Linked DNA regions of Homo sapiens: region 2 is linked to region 1. Evidence: promoter capture Hi-C in human tissues and cell types (Jung and others, 2019). All regions are on one chromosome and are shown on one strand. Each heading gives the region's core, a stretch centred on a gene start or on the middle of the fragment in contact. The rest is flanking DNA. Distances are from core to core; before and after follow the strand shown. Region 1 holds the start of PAMR1 (peptidase domain containing associated with muscle regeneration 1). Region 2 has its middle 28 kb from the start of COMMD9.

The links. Contacts are between HindIII fragments. The study calls those that stand out against the background at their distance.
Region 2: a fragment that was not itself captured here is called in contact with the fragment with the promoter of PAMR1 in region 1 in 2 of the 25 tissues and cell types used here (bladder and mesendoderm cells).

Annotation. Positions count from the first base shown.
Region 1 is chr11:35,522,673-35,527,674 of GRCh38, reverse strand. It overlaps PAMR1 (peptidase domain containing associated with muscle regeneration 1), which reads left to right and starts at 2,059. Exons shown (of 11, transcript NM_001001991.3): 1 at 2,059-2,162. The coding sequence starts at 2,090. The HindIII fragment of the contact is 6,683 bases long and covers 1-2,653 here.
Region 2 is chr11:36,259,295-36,264,296 of GRCh38, reverse strand. No RefSeq gene overlaps it. Among named protein-coding and RNA genes, the nearest start is that of COMMD9, 28 kb to the left of the region's middle. The HindIII fragment of the contact is 7,628 bases long and covers 1-5,002 here.

The DNA.
Region 1 (5,002 bases), core at 810-3,309:
TGCCTACAGTTATTTGGGAACTAAGTCATCTTCTTCCCACTCCCATCACCAAAGGACCAGGACTGGTTGGCCAGCAACAAGGTGAACCTCCCTTCTTCGAACCTCTGCCCTCTACCTCTTAGGTATATGCTGCCCTCTGGTATTCTGCTCCTGTTTAAGGCTACTCTTGGTGCTTATTTTAACTGATTTCATCTCGATATGGAAGTTGAGTGTAGGAACAAGACTCATACCATGAGATGTTCTTGGGGGCAGTCTCAGGTCAGATAATAGAGATAATGATTAATATTTAGTGTGCACTTAATATGTGGTAGGCTCTGTGCTATGGGCCTTACATGCGTAATCTTATTAAATTCTTCCAGTGATCTACAAAGTAGGTTTGATTATTATTTCCATTTTATAGATGAGAAGACTGAGATTCAGAGAGTTAACTTGCTTAAGGTCACACAGCCAGAAAGTGGTGAATCAACAAAATTAGAACACAGGCCTGCTGAGTTCTTGCTTCCAGTCACTTCACTGCAATAGGCCCCCAGAAGCAGGGCTGGAGTTCAGAAATTCTTTCTAGTAGAGCACCTGTGTCAGGGCTCCTGACCTTCTGATCTGTCCTGAGCTTTACAGATTCTACCTTCCTCAGGTTTCTCCCCTTATCTTTTCCCTTCCACTTCCATTTCTTAATCCTTACTCCAGGCCTTCATCAATAGTCCAGGGTGACTTCTCTTCCCGAGACTTTGCTTTGAGCTCAGCACACCCTACTTGTAAACCACCAGGGCCCGCCAACATCTAGAGAACAAAATTAAAACTTTTATGGGGGTAACTGTCCCCATGATTCAATTATCTCCACCTGGTCCCTCCCATGACACGTGGGGTTTATGGGAACCACAATTCAAGATGAGGTTTGGGTGGGGACACAGCGAAGCCATATCAAATGGTGAAATACAATTCTGCATATGTAGCATCCTAAGAAGCTCTATAGCCTAGTGGCTAAGACTATAGCCTGTGGGCCTAAGCTGCCCGGGTTCAAACCCTGGCTCTGCCCCTCACTAACTGTGTGGCCTTGGATGAGTTATTGTAATCCTCAATGGTTCCGTTTCTCTAATTGTAAAATACAGAGGCTAGGTTTATTGTGAGGAATAATTGAGTTAATACATGTAAGGTACATGACACCTGGCACGGAGGAGTTTATTTTAAAAAGTCACCTATTATGAAACATCCTTCTTCCTCATTTCGAGATGTCACTTGCTATCTTGTACCTAAACTGAGCCCTTTTGGTGGAGGCAGTGAGGGTTCTTGTGTGTTCTTCGCCATCCCTGCCTGGCGTGTGCGCAGGAGCTATTTATGTTGCTGAATTCACCATCGTGGGGATCACAGGAAGAGGAAAACTTTTTCCAGTAGCTCAGGAGCTGCTTATGTCGCTGAATTCACCATGACGGGGATCATAGGAAGAGGAAAACTTTTTCCAGTAGCCTGTAGTTGCAAAAGATAATAAGCTTTCCAACCTGTGATCACCTGGAGCAAACGGAGAGGAAAGGAGATAAACGAGGAGTGTTGCGTGCGGAGTGGAGGGAGGCTCCCTTTCTCCTCCCATCACCAACTCCTCCTTCTCCTCAGGCCAGGCTTTTAATCAGGCTCCCCGCGTGCAGTCAGAGAGGGCAAAGCCAGCTCCCGTCTCAGCCTCCCGTAGGAAGATCTCCCGGCCTCACCTGAGCGCCCCGCAGCCCTGGGTACCTCTGCTCCCGCCCAGGGTCCTATGGCCCCTCCTCCCAGCACCCAACACTGGGACCCCACCTGTACCCAGGCTGGCCTCCCTCCCCCGCAGCTTCCTTTGCAGCCGCCGTCCGCGGGTCTCCAGGCGTGGCCACACCTCCCGGGGCCCCGCAAGGGTTAAGGCAGCAGAGAGGAGAGGTTTGGGCTGACGTCGCTCTGGCTGAAGGTGGTTCCCCTCAGATGAGGATGGGAGAGCCTGGCGAGCTGAAACCCGAGCTCCCGCTCAGCTGGGGCTCGGGGAGGTCCCTGTAAAACCCGCCTGCCCCCGGCCTCCCTGGGTCCCTCCTCTCCCTCCCCAGTAGACGCTCGGGCACCAGCCGCGGCAAGGATGGAGCTGGGTTGCTGGACGCAGTTGGGGCTCACTTTTCTTCAGCTCCTTCTCATCTCGTCCTTGCCAAGAGGTACTGTGAGTAGCGTCCGGGACACCCTAGGAGGACACCCTAGGAGGGAGCATTTTCCTCCTGGGGTCTGCCTGGGAGCAGGACTGGGAGTCTCAGGAGGTGGGCTGTGTGTGTTTGGGGTGAGGGGTTGAGGGGGGGTGGTGCTTTTCCAGTGATAATTTTAGGGACTTGGCTGGTGGTGCTGGAGCTCCTGTGGCCCTCCCTGAGACTGTGACGTGGTTTTGTCATCCCAAATCGTGGGGCTGTACTGTCTCAGGAAAGCGGACCAGCTCCTATTTTATTTGCTCTTTTTATCATTTTAAAAGTACCAAATTGCCTTAGGGAATCAATTCTGAGTTACCCGCTCTGACTTGCAAAAGCGAAGTTTCTCTTGGAAAGGGCTCCCTCAGAGGTGAGCAAGAAAGAAAGAAGAGAGGGAAAGAAAGAAAGGAATAAAGAGCAGGGCTTGCTTGGTGTTCTTCTGGTGAATCTTGCTTCACGAACTCCTACAGCCATACCCCTTCGGAGTAGATCCAAGCACAGGAGATTGACTCACTCAGCATATATAGACACACTTCCTTTCTGATGAGAGTGAGAAAGAAGAAAAAGCCAAGGTTAAAAGTGCAGATTGTTTCTGGGATGCATAGGGTTTGTTTTGAAAGAGCTCTGGCTTCTTTGGTTTTCATATATCATTTTCTAAGCCACAATCCCCAGGTCAAATGGGCTTCTGGGGACAAATGAGGCTGGGACATGATACGGAGATCCAGCTAAGGGCAGAAGCGAGGACATGGCAGATCCTGCTTGCTGGCAGGCGGGGAAGTGGGAACGTCATAGGAACATCTGTCCTTCTATGGCCCAGGGGGTAAAGTGAGACCTCATGAGATGAGGGCAGGCCGAGATGTACAGAAATGACCAAACGGGGCAGCTCTGAATAGGGGCAGGTTATGTACGAGCCTTCGCTGCTTCCCTTCTGTGCTGGTTACCTGTCACCTGAACTCTATCTGAGAGCTGGGTGCTCTGCCGCTGCAAGTAGCTGGCAAGTGCCTGAGAATGAAACAGGCCAGGTCGGGTGGGGAGGATACTAAATGCAATAACCTGTGTAGAAGGGAAACTTAGCCATAGGCACATCCCTTCATGATCAACGAAAAGCTGAGATACACAAACCCCCCTGCCCTTCATTTTGGTCAATACTTTCCATCTACCTAGAGCCTGCCTGCCCAGGTAGGATCTTCCTTAATGATTTACAATAAAGATGGTGAGTGTTTCATTTGAATTTTGCCTCCATGGTGTCTGGAGCAGCCCAAAGACAATAATAAAGGAAGAAGGAGCCCTTCATAAGGGCTGACAATCCATAAACCTAAACACTTGCCTAGGGGTAAGTGGGTGACTTTGCATTAAGGCACCTCCCTACTTCATCTTCGCCTTTGCATGGTGTCGGTGGACCAGCTCCAGAGGACCTGGTTCTTCTCAGAGTGCCAGGGCTCAGTGGATTTGATTCCTCAGGGTTACATCAGCGTTCCCCTGCTTCCTGTTTTATTACATGGCAGGTGAGGCGCTTCAAAGCCATAAAAGTTTAAAAGAAAATAAAAAAACCTGAGCTGGCTCTTTTTCCTAGCCCAGAATCTGAAAAATCCATTTATTTCTGACCCGAGAACCTCTTTTACCTTTGGCTGTGAAAAAGCTTCAGAGAGGATACGCAGTTTGTTGGTAGCTAAACTGCTGCCTGAACCAGAGCGCAGCTTCATGTGTTTAGCAAGGATATTTTAGTTGTTGAATGTTTTACTCACATTTCGAGGGAAGACGGAGGAATAGCGTGGAGAAGGAAAATATTTCCTCAAGGAGTGAAGGAAGTCCACTCCCTGCTGGGATGCTGAATCTGGCCCCAGGCAAGAAAAGCTTGGAAGCGTATTTCCTCTAATTAACTTTTCTAAAAAGAGTATTTGCTGAATTGTAAACATCCACTGGGATGGTACCAGAGAGTGTTGTTTCTCACTGGCATGTGACACATGTTGGGAGGATGAGAATCCAAACATGAGGCCAAGCGATAACCCAACATAAACAGAATGAGGGGAGAAACCCAACTCCACTGACTTCACCAAATTGCGGTAGCTCTGCCAGTGTGATTCTGCCGAAGAGGAAAACCTCATTTAAAATATGGGACTCTTGGGAATGAAAACTTAATCTGGAGAACTTCACAAGTGTTGCTTCCAACAGACATTAACTTGTGGGGAATGAACATAAATGCAACCAGGGAAGATAATTTGAAGTGCAGATATTCAGTGGGCAGGAAAAGCCAGCCGAGAAAGGAAACATGGAAAGAAAGCAAGGGAGAAGGAGTGGCAAGAAAAATGAGATGTGAGATTACACTGGGATATGTTGGCAAATTCCTAGGAGAAAGCTAGGAAAATTGGGCCTTCTTGGCACGGGTGGATTTTTGCGGGGATCATGAAGAGGGTGTTCCCCTAATATACAATCTGAGAGCTCCTGGCATCCCCAACAGGAAAATAATTTAATGATGGGATCATGGAGTTTAGGAGCTGAGAGTGACTTTAGAAATTATTTTAGTATGAGTCCCTCAATTCAGAGGATGAAGAGATTAAACATCAAGCAAACATTTAGTGAACATTTATTAATGTGTCCAGTCTTTGAGCCAAAGGCTTCATATGCATTAATTCTCAGACCACCCTGAAATGGCATTGCTGTTATTATCCGTGTTTTACAGATGAGGTTCAGAGAGGTTCTATGATACACAGAGGTTTAAGGATATACAAGTATGGTTCCCCCAAAAATTGAACATAGAATTACCATTTGATTTAGCAATTCAATTTCTGGGTGTATACACAAAAGAATTGAAAGCAGGG
Region 2 (5,002 bases), core at 970-3,469, 740 kb before region 1:
TGGATTAGCCTCCAAAGGGCACCCTGCACTGGCCTTGTCCTCCCCAAGTCCAGCCTTCCCAGTGCTTTCCAGAAAGTAAACTTGATCTGGTTTTACTCGCTAAACCTGGTCCCACCTTCCCGGGCTTCTCCATCTTAGTAAACAACAGCTCCAACCAGAGACGTGGGAAACATCACTGCCTCCTTCTCTGCCTGCTGCTATACCCACCTTCCTCCCATTTAATCCATTAGCAAGACTTGCTGGTTCTCTCTCCAAAATATACTCACATTGGTCCATTTCTCTCCATCTCTGCACCACCTTGGTTAATGACTCTGTCATTTCTCACCTATGGTAGCCTCTAAGCATGATGACATCTGACACCCTCTGCCTCCTGAGCTCATAACACTTTCCTCAGCACTCCATTCACACCAACCTTCCTTCAGTTCCAAGAGTCCTCCAAAGTCTTTCCAGCCGCAATGCCTGTGCACTCACTGCATCCCCCACCCACCCCTCGCCCTGCTCCAAACTGTAACACTCTTTCCCCTGCTCTTGAAAAGACTGGGTTCTTCCCATTTTTTTAATACTTATCTAAAAGATCACTATCTTAGAGAAAGTTTCTCAAGCTATGCTCTCTAAAGAGGATTCCTTCTTTTATTCTGAATCACAGCATCCTGTTCATTTCTTGCCCCCCACCACTCCACGCCATGGAAAGTCTTATTAATTCAGTGAACTGATGTGCATTCTCATTTATTTACCATGGTCGTTGTCTGTCTCCCCACTGGAGACATGAAGATGAGCAACTTGTCTATCTTGTTCGATGTTATATCCCCATAGCCTGGCACGGAGTACCTGCTCAATAAATATTTGCTAACTGAATGTAATAAATGAATGGAAGATGCATCATGGCACTGTCCTGCTTTTCTCTGTCAATGGCTTCCCATTGTCCCCAGTATGCTGTCAAAACTCCAAACTCCATAGGGCTCCATTAGAGTTTCTTCACGACCTTACCTCAGCTCACCTTTCCAATGTCTTCATTAGGTTTATGGGGAATCAATCTGGAAAGGTTCAAGTCATAATGGGTTCCATGGTGCAGACGAGAGCACTGGCCTGGCAGTGAGAAAAAGGGACATTGAACAAATGATCTTTATGATTCCAGGCAGTGCTTCCATTGTGCAGTCTGAGGTTTGTTTGAGTGTGTGGTTAGTTTGTTTGTTTGTTTGCTGTTTGTTTTTTAAACCATAGCTGGGATGAAACTCTCAATCAAGAAGCCAAGGGAGAAATTTGAGAAGAGAAGCAACAGCTCTTGCTGTCTTGGATGGCTGGGAAGGGATATGCAGAGATCAGGAATCCCTAGTGCTGACTCGGGCCAGGCAGCGTCAGGAGTCTCAAGAAAACAAACCCTGGAGATTGGCAGGTCCAAGAGCAGGGCGGGGGGCCACACCGGTCTCGTTCACCTTCTATCCCCAGTGCTTAGTCTTTGGCACATGGTAGGTCCTTGGTGAAAGGTTGGGGGGAAGCACATGCCACGGGGACCGGAAACCCCGTCCCACTCATGTCACTGCTGAGTGTCATCGAGATCACAAGAAAGCCCCCCAGGCCATGGTCCCTCTCAATGAGAAGCATCTATGGATGGCAGGGGCAGGGCTATTTGCCCCACTCGTCTGCCCTCCTCAGACCTCAACTGAGCCTTCAGCCGCCCCCAGTGTACATGTCCTACTGGCCCAGCCTCAGTTTTGCTCCCTCCACTGCTAAACATATCTGACAGATCAAACATATTTGCTGGCTCTTTGCAATGGCTCTGTGTCTAGATAGGGTTTCTTTTCTTTTCTTTTTCTTTTTTTTTTCTTTCTTTCTTTTCTTTTCTTTTCTTTTTTTTTTTTTTTTTTTTTTTTTGAGGCAGGGTCTCGCTCTGTTGCCCAGGCTGGAGTATGGTGTAATCTGGGTTCACTGCAGACTCAACCACCTGGGCTCAAGCAGTCCTCCCACCTCAGCCTGCCAAGTATCACACACCACAACAGCCCACCTGATTAAAAAAAAAAAAAAGTACAGATGCAGTCTTGCTTTGTTGCCCAGGCTGGTTGCAAACTCCTGGGCTCAAGCAACCCTCCTGCCTCAGCCTCCTAAAGTGCTGGGATTATAGGCGTGAGCCACTGTGCTCAGCCCCTGGTTTCTTGCTCTAATCCTCCCAAGCCCAGCAGCACCAGGCAGCTGCCAGGATTGAAGAAGGCACCTCCGAGTCTCTAAGTCAGCTTCCTCAGAGAGTGTTCCCTCGATTCCTAGGTGTGCGGCTCTGGGTATAGACCTCCGGGCTCAGCCCTGACCACAGATATAAATTGAGCCTCTGCAGCAGGGATGGGGTAGGAGGAGCTGAGGGTATCTAGGGGCTTTTTCATGAACCACAGTCCTTCCAAGCAGCACAAGCTTCTCCACAGCAAACCCCAAAAGCTGTGTGCACTTCTGATTAATCCACTGAGATGAGTCCGCTGAGAGGGCAAAGTATCTCCACGTTCACACTGGGCACCAGAAGTTGTCACACAAAGCATCTGGCGGGCATGCACACTAGGTCTTTGAATCCTCATATCCCTCAGCGGTGGTTTTATTATCTCCACTTCCTCAGATCAGGAAACAGAGCCTTGGAGATGAGAAATAATTTGCTGGAGGTCACAGCTAGGTCTGGCCCCACGTCCAGTGGTTTTCAGTTTCTGGACAAATTCAGGGCTGGGAAGTTACAGTGTGGAAAAGGATCATCCTCAGAAGATAAAAGTGTCAAAATCGACGAGATGGCCCCCCAGGAGTGCCAGTGATCTAAAGCTGGGAGCTCCAGGAACAAGGAGAAGGATGGCTGCCCCAGATGGACCGAGACCGGTCAGAGACAAAGGAGGCTGGGTAGATGTCTGGGAGCCTTGTGACATTAGGAGCAGCTGGAAATAGAGGAGGGAAAGAAAGAAGGAGGCTCAGGAGGTGGTAACATCAAAAGGCTATCTCATGGCAGGGGGGATGCATGTTATTCCAGGTGGCAGGGCAAGGTTGGTGTGGGGAGGACAGTGGGGAGGGATAGCTGGCTGGCTTTGTAGGGTTATTCTCTGGCTCTAGCGGTTGAGAATGGTAAAAGCTAGTGCTTTAACATCAGGTGCCTCTGTAGGTTCTTCAGAAGCCTCCATCCGAGGGTCCTAACACAGGTGCCTGTCTTCTCCAGTGGCCACTCAGGACTAACACCTCAGTTTTCTGTGATCCACTCCATTTACAGGTTTATTCTGTTGAAGCCACATCAGCGCCTCCAGGCTGAGGTTATACGTGGCTTGTAAATCCTAAAATATTTACCGTCAGGCTCTTTACAGAAAAAGTTTGATTAAAGTTTGATGAAAAAATAGTATATGTTATACACCTTGCTTTTTTTTTTCTTTAACCCAGTAACCTATCCTGAAGGTCTCCTTCTATCAGTACTTAAGAGCTTCTTCATTCCTTTCTAGGGCACACAGTATACCATTGTCTGGATGGACTATGATTTATTTAGCCAGTTTCCTATTGGTGGACAGTTAGGCTGTTACCAACCTTCTGCTATTACAAATGCTGCTGCAATAGGTAGATTTGTACAGGAAGCTGGAGAAAGTTCCAAGAAATGTATATGCCCAGATCTCAGCACAGATCTCCTGAGGCAGTGTCTTTGGAGTCAGAGTCCCAGGCATCTGTATTTTTAGGAATTCCCCAAGCGTTGCACATGCAGCCAGGTTGGGGAATCACATTTACAGCTCATGCCTTCTGACGACAAGAAAGGCTGGATCCCCTTTGCTGGTCCCATAAGAGTCCAGAGAGGGAGGCAAGCATCTCTCATCCCATAGAGGAATATCAGTCTTCAAGGCCTGGTTGGCACTGGCCCCCCAAAGATTGGACAGAAAATTAGGAAGCCAAAGTGGTATTGTGATCTCAGAGTTTTTTTGTCTCTATTGAGACACAGTCAGAGCCTGTTCTGGCCCAGGGCAATGATGGGGAGGTACAGGGGTTGTGGACCATGTCAAGGGACCCCCGGGGAGGCTGAGCTGGGGACATGACATCTGACTGAGACTGGAAGCATAAGTAAGAGTTAGCCAGAGGGTAACAGCTCTTGCTATCTTGGATGGCTGGGAAGGGATATGCAGAGATCAGGAATCCCTAGTGCTGACTCGGGCCAGGCAGCGTCAGGAGTCTCAAGAAAACAAACCCTGGAGATTGGCAGGTCTGAGAGCAGGGCGGGGGGCCACACCAGTCTCGTTCACCTTCTATCCCCAGTGCTTAGTCTTTGGCACGTGGTAGGTCGTTGGTGAAAGGTTGAGGGGAAGCACATGCCATGGGGACTGGAAACCCCATCCCACTCATGTCACTGCTGAGGGTCATCACAAGAAAGCCCCCCAGGCCATGGTCCCTCTGAATGAGAAGCGTCTACGGATAGCAGCGGCAGGACTATTTGCCCTGCTAGTCTCCCCTCCTCAGACCTCAATTGAGCCTTTAGCTGCCCCAGTGAACATGTCCTACTGGCCCAGCCTCAGTTCTGCTCCCTCCCCTGATAAAGGAGGGAGGGACACAGGGAAGATGGCCAGGCAGAGGGACAGCGCATGCAAAGGCTCAGAGGAGACAGTGAAGGGCTCAGAACTGACTGCAGGAATTCACGCTCATTCAGTCTGGCTGGAACCTCCAACTCATGGGCCTGTAATTCTTTGATTCCTGTTTTTTTTTCTACTAGGCTATGAGGTTTATAAGGGCGGGGCCTGTGCCCTTTTCCTCCATCCCTTTCTCTTTTTCCTCCCTCCCTTCTTTTCTTCCTTCCCTGCTTCTTTCCTCATTTTGCCTCTTGGCTATATCACTGGTGTCTCAAATATTGGTGAGTGAGTGAGTGAATGGACTTAGGTCTGGGAGGTTGCCCCAGGGAGAACCAAGTCTTGAGTGGTCTGCATTTGTTCTGAAGCTCTTTCTCCTCTCTTCTGTCCCTCTCCACCAGCACAGTGGTTCCCAGGGGTGCCTCTACAGCACCTTCATGCCGTCTCCAGCC